Linked DNA regions of Homo sapiens: region 2 is linked to region 1. The links are contacts of gene promoters, found by promoter capture Hi-C in blood cells and fetal thymus (Javierre and others, 2016). All regions are on one chromosome and are shown on one strand. The core of a region is centred on a gene start or on the middle of the fragment in contact, and the rest is flanking DNA. Distances in the headings are between cores, read along the strand shown.

Evidence for each region. Contacts are between HindIII fragments. The CHiCAGO score rates a contact against its expected background, and 5 or more counts as called.
Region 2: a fragment that was not itself captured here is called in contact with the fragment with the promoter of VCF1 in region 1 in 13 of 17 cell types (megakaryocytes, fetal thymus, total CD8 T cells and 10 more); the score reaches 22.2 in megakaryocytes.

What each region holds. Positions count from the first base shown.
Region 1 is chr17:73,231,144-73,234,127 of GRCh38, reverse strand. It overlaps VCF1 (VCP nuclear cofactor family member 1), which reads left to right and starts at 1,734. Exons shown (of 4, transcript NM_001098832.2): 1 at 1,734-2,042. The coding sequence starts at 1,822. It overlaps MTNAP1 (mitochondrial nucleoid associated protein 1), which reads right to left and starts at 1,695. Exons shown (of 6, transcript NM_001351264.2): 1 at 1,639-1,695; 2 at 803-908. RefSeq lists an enhancer at 2,241-2,984. The HindIII fragment of the contact is 5,222 bases long and covers 1-2,347 here.
Region 2 is chr17:72,726,844-72,730,053 of GRCh38, reverse strand. The region is part of intron 7 of SLC39A11 (solute carrier family 39 member 11); the gene reads left to right. Among named protein-coding and RNA genes, the nearest start is that of LINC00511, 88 kb to the right of the region's middle. RefSeq lists an enhancer at 2,070-2,364. The HindIII fragment of the contact is 2,711 bases long and covers 243-2,953 here.

The DNA of each region.
Region 1 (2,984 bases), core at 485-2,984:
TTTGTTCACTTAATTCTTTAGATATAAACGTTTAAATATTATTCAGTACTACAACTGATAATATCTTCTGACTACCAAAGAGATTAAAAAGGGTGACTGAAACCACTTACAAAATAGACACAATCTTCACCAATCCATTCAATAAAGCAACCAACCCACCTTATCCTGTACGAAGTCCTTCAAAACAAAACTGTTTTCTGCCAACAGATTACAGTAATCATTTTTACTTTGTTGTTGTTTGGTCTTTTTTTTTTTGAGATGGAGTCTTGCTCTATCACTCAGGCTGGAGTGCAGTGGCGCGATCTCGGCTCACAGCAACCTCAGCCTCCCAGGTTCAAACGGTTCTCCTGCCTCAGCCTCCCGCGTGGCTGGGATTACTGGGATTAAGGGCGTGCGCCACCACGCCCAGCTAATTTTAGTATTTTTAGTAGAGACGGGGTTTCACCATGTTGGCCAGGCTGGTCTTGAACTCCTGACCTCAGGTGATCCACCCGCCTCGGCCTCCCAAAGTGCTGGGACTACAGGCGTGAGCCACCGCGCCCAGCCTGCTGGGATTACAGGCGTGAGCCATCATTCTTTCTTTCTTTGGAGGTACACACTAACAGGATGAAAGCCACAGACTGTTTGTTTACAATAATACACACAAATGAAGCCAGTCCATGGACCTTCGGCTAACAACGTTAGGAAGGGCTTGACACCTGCTAGACGTTTCTGCCTCCACTCCACCTCACACTCAACCCTACTTGAAAGATCCCGGTACATTCCCACGATAACGTCTATACGTGGGTGTCTGTTTTCTTACCCGAGCTCCTCCAGGAGGATGCTAGTTTTGTGGGTGCTTCTCCCGGATCCCCATGCTTCCCCGATCACCGTTCCCGAGTGTGGCAGAATGAAACGTGAATGTCAGCCTGTGTAGGACACGATCAGACAGGTGACTTGGCAGCATGCACAGTGAGTAAACGCGGCACGATACTGAACCAAATAGAAACACAGGTTCCGGAAAGCAGAGAGTTAAGACCTCCCCAGCCTCCGGGCTCAAGGAGGACCTCAATAGTTCCACTAATCCTCACCCTCACCTCCGGCGCTCTCCAGCCGCCTTTCCCTCCTCCCGCTGCGTTACCAGCCTGCCCACCTCCCCGCACCCTTCCTTTCCCTGAAAGCTGTTCTGATTCTGCCAGCTGTTCTGATTCTGCGGAGTGGATGGGGTCGGCCCGGCAGCTCCTGGGTCAGGGACAGCCGTTCCCGCAGCCCCACCGAGGATTTCCTCCTGCGGTTCCAGGAAGACCCTCCGCCGGCCCCGGCACCCGATTCCCTACCCTCTCCGCTCAGGAGAGTCTCCCCCAGACTTAGAACGTGGGCCGCGGAAAACAAACCCGCCCTTGCAAGCTCCCCACAGAGCACCGTCCTCACCTCGGAAGACCTGAAAGCCCAGGCGGCCCCGGCGACAAGCCCCCCAGGGAAGCCCCCCAGGCCCCTGCCCAACCCCCGGCCAAGGAACCTCGTCAGGCCGTCTGCACCACTGCCGGATAGGTCCGCCTGTTTTAAAATATGTTACACGGATTCAACTCAAATACTTGTATGATATTATTATGACATAATTGAATTTATTTGAAACCTGGCTTGACTTTTATACCGTACCCTCCGTTGGCTGTGAACAGGCGAGCGCTTCTGCCACCCCAGGGGAGGTCCTTTCTCCCAGAAGCTCCTAGTCGCTCCTCCCGCTCCGAGCCCGCCTCTTCCCGTGGGCGGGGTTACCAGTCGGTGCGGTTGGGATGGTGCCACTGCGCAGCCGCGAGAGGGCGGTACCACGGCGGCAGCGACATGGGGGGGCGCGGAGCAGACGCCGGAAGTAGTGGTGGTACGGGTCCGACTGAGGGGTACTCGCCACCGGCTGCGTCCACCCGAGCGGCTGCGAGAGCCAAGGCCCGAGGGGGTGGGCGTGGCGGCCGCCGAAACACAACCCCCTCTGTTCCCTCTCTTCGCGGAGCGGCGCCGCGTAGCTTCCATCCGCCAGCTGCCATGAGCGAGCGCCTCCGTCCCAGGTGAGAGGGAAGGGACCCCCTTTCCATTCGTCGCCTGAGGATCTGGGAGATAGAGCCGAGGGGGCGCGCGAAATGGGGGTCGGAGCAAGAGTGGACCCGGCGGGGCTCCCTGTGGGGTGCACTGCGGGCCGGGGGAGGAGGGGAGAGGGATGCGCGAGTGATCGGATGCTTGGTTCCTGTGGGTAGCTGGAAGGTGACTCTCCGGGGTCCAGGTCTCCCGCCCCTCCATCTTTTTTCCCCCCTGTCTTTTCCTATTTGGAACGAAGTGTGATCGGTCCCGGAAGAGAGACGGTGGCCCTAAAGCTTTCCTGTCCTAAATTTAGGAGGGTGGGGGGATGGGATAAACGTCTCATCTTGGAGAGGGAGCCCCCAAAGGCTTTTGTGAGGGCACCGGGCGGGGAGCTGCCGGCTCCCCAAGGTCAGAAAGAAAGGTTGGGCTTAACCCCGCAGCAGGGAAAGATTCGGTTAGACCGAAGAACTTGTGCCCTGAACGGTTGTGAACACAGAAGGGCAGATGACCAAGGCGGGTTATGGATCTTCTCTTGACTGTGGCATTAAGAACAAGCTGGATTCTAAACTGTTTGGATTGCGGGGCCGTTTGACTCCGAAGGCGGGAGGAAAGATTTTATCGCGATGCACTCGCTACCTTCCCGAGGGAGCCTGGCCTCGGGACGCGGGTCTTAAATTAGGGGTTCTGTGCTTGACATGTACTACTAGAGTCCGGACTAAGTTGGGATTTCTTAATTTTTTTCTCTCTCTTAATTTCCTCTGCAAGAATGTGTGGAGGAGAAAGTTGGGAAAGGTTACCTCAGAATGCTCTTCCTGTTACGGTCTTTCCACAAGGATCCTTCTCTGAAATAATTATTTCATGTGATTGAAGTTCTCAAAAGTATTCTGAGTTTATTTGGTCCCATAGTGAAAACCTAGGGTTCCCCAAGCTGC
Region 2 (3,210 bases), core at 349-2,848, 500 kb after region 1:
TAAAATGGATTAGAGTGCTCTGCCACAGAGAGAGTCAGAATACATACCCTAAGATCAATGCCATTCAGACCGCATTGTCTTGATTTCGATGTGATATAGTTGAAAGTCAATAGCAGAAAAGATACCCATAGTAATTTATTAATCGACAGTTAAGCCCATAGGCGGCATAAGATTAACACAGTCCAAGCTCCAAAGGGCTTGATCCAAGCCAGACCAAGAAACCAGTAGAAGACAGGCAAGCTTTTTGCTCCTCTCAAGGGCTCTTCATAGAATGGTCTACATTTCATCAGGAGCATAGGGGTGGTCTGCTTTGGTAAGGGGATGATAAGGGCAGGTAGTACTCTGAGCAAATGCCAAGGTAGGTGCCAAGGTTTTTTCAGGGCTGGTGGACAAACCGATATGACTGAGATAGAATTTTCTGGTGCTTTAGAGAAGGTATGTCTAAAGGATTGGATTGGCTGGTTGCAGTGGCTCATGCCTGTAATCCCAGCATGTTGGGAGGCTGACATAGGTGGGTTGCTTGAGCCCAGGAGTTCAAGACCAGCCTGGGCAACATGATGAAACCCTGTCTCTACAAAAAAAAAAAAAAAAAAAAATATATATATATATATATATATATATATATATATATATATATATATATATATAAATAGCCAGGTGGGGTGGCATGCACCTGTAGTCCCAGGTACTCTGAATCCTGAGGTGGGAGGACCACCTGAGCCTAGGGAGGTTGAGGCTGCAGTAAGCCGTGATCGTGCCACTGCACTCCATCCTGGGCAATAGAGAGACTGTGCCTCAAAAAAAATAAAACTAAATAAATAAAGGATTGGATTGAGGCAGGAAAGAAACAGGTGCATTACTCAGCAAAAAGTTGGCAACTATGGTGGGTTCCGATGCAGGCAAGAGACATCACCCAAGAGGTAACTCAAACATGCATCTGGCTAAGATAAAATAATCTGGGAGAGCAGGTGGGGAGATAAACCAGTGTGAAGAATGCACCAACTGAAAAAGAATATTTACAGCCCACCCCACTGCTGTGTGTTTTAGCAGCAATGAAGAAGATACTGGATGTTGTGATGACCATGAGAATGAGGACTGATCCCAGGAAGAGCTGTTGCGTACAGAACCCACAGACAGCGTTTGCCAGCTGATTTTGTTGTCGCGTGGAAGGGAGAAGGGAGAATTTGAGTCCAAGTGACAAGGAGACGTAGGTTAATCTCGTGCCGTGGAGTGAACTGAGAGGGAAGAAGGACTCCATTTACACAGATTGGGGAAAGCGTTACCCAGTACAGGCCCAGGGTACACGTGCACCAAGCTAACTGAGCCAGATAGTTTATGACTCCTTTAGTGGAGGGGTTGGCAAACTATGGTCTGCGGGCCAAATTTGGCCCAACACCTATTTCTGGAAATGAGGCTTTATTGGAGCATACGCGCACCCATTTGTTTACATATTGTCTTTGGCTCCATATGTGCTACAGTGGCTGATCTGCATAATGGCCAGAGAAATCTTAAGGCTGAAAAGCTGGAAATACTTACTATCTGCAAAGCTGAAAATATTTACTATCTGACCTCCCTGTTCCTTTGTTCCTTTCCTTTCCCTTTCCCTTTCTTTTTGACAGGGTCTCACTCTGTCACTCAGGCTGTAGTGCAGTGGTGCAATCATGGCTCACTGCACCCTCGACCCCCTGGGCTCAAGCGATCCTCCCACCTCAGCATCCCTCCCAAGCAGCTGGGGCTACAGGCACATACCACCACACCCAGCTAATTGTTGTATTTTTTGTAGAGATTGAGTTTGCCCAGGCTGGCCTCCAACTCCTAAGCTCAAGTGATCTGCCTGCCTCAGCCTCCCAAAGTGCTGGGATTACAGGCGTGAGCCACCACACCTGGCTATCTGACCCTTTTCAGAAAGCGTTAGACCCCTCCTTTAGTGGACACAATCCCTGTTTTTAGCCCATATTCATCATTAAATACTCTGAGGCCAACTGTCTTTTTTATGACCTCTTGCTTGTGCCCTGTCTGTTGAAGCAGGAGGCTTCATATAAACGTCGCCTGTGGCATTATAGCCACCCACAAGAAAAGGAACTATTCCAAGAAGGCACTGTCTTCAGTTCCCACTTCAGGGGTTTCTGACCTGGGAAGAAGACAGGCAGGCACCTCGCCTATCATGTGTGTGTGGCTGCTGCCATCTGGTGTACAGATGCCGTTACTTCCTCACCTTCCTGGAGCCCTCCCCAGCTCCTTCCCATCTGTCCACCTCCCTACCTGGCCAGGTCAGCTTGCACCAAGGTGTTCATTCAGAGGTCATTGTCTCCTGAATTAGGAAGACTCTCAGCCAGCAGAGGGAGGCCTGTAGTTCAAGGGAAACACAGCTTGCTTCTTTCTTTTTTTTTTTTTTTTTTTTTGAGACGGAGTCTCACTCTTTCACCCAGGCTGGAGTGCAGTGGCACGATCTCAGCTCACTGCAACCTCCACCTCCTGAGCTCACACCATTCTCCTGCCTCTGCCTCCCGAGTAGCTGGGAGTACAGGCACCCGCCACCACGCCTGGCTGATTTTTTGTGTTTTTAGTAGAGATGGGTTTCACCGTGTTAGCCAGGATGGTCTCCATCTCCTGACCTCGTGATCCACCCGCCTCGGCCTCCCAAAGTGCTGGGATTACAGGCGTGAGCCACTGTGCCTGGCCCCAGCTTGCTTCTTTCTGTTCTGGTCCCATAGCAGTTTCTTTCTGTTTCAATCACAGAGGAATTCTTCAGACCGTATGTGCTTGGGGAATTGCATGCTTAAGCGGTTTTCCTTTCTGCTGTATCGTCACTTCAAAGAACATGTTCTCTGGAGAGGAGACATGCCCTCAGCTCCCACTTCACTCAGTGGCAGGCATCATTCAAACCAGCAGGGAGAGTAAGACTGTTTATGCTTAAACACTCAGCTTCACATACCACTTCCTGTTTTAAGCTTTGACTAAGCACGCGTCAAGAGACGTTTGTAGTCTGTGGACCTGCCTTGACCTACAGGTGCAGCGGCCATCCCAGAGCAGGCTGTGCACAGCAGAGGAGGCTGGCTGCGAACTTTAGTGTGCCATGGATAGTCCACAAAACACATCCCCAAGATATGACCGGACCAGCTACTGCTAATCAACACCCAGACACTTGGTAAAGGAGGCATGGTTGATTAGTCTACATTTGGATGTAGTATAGCCCATTAAATTACACAT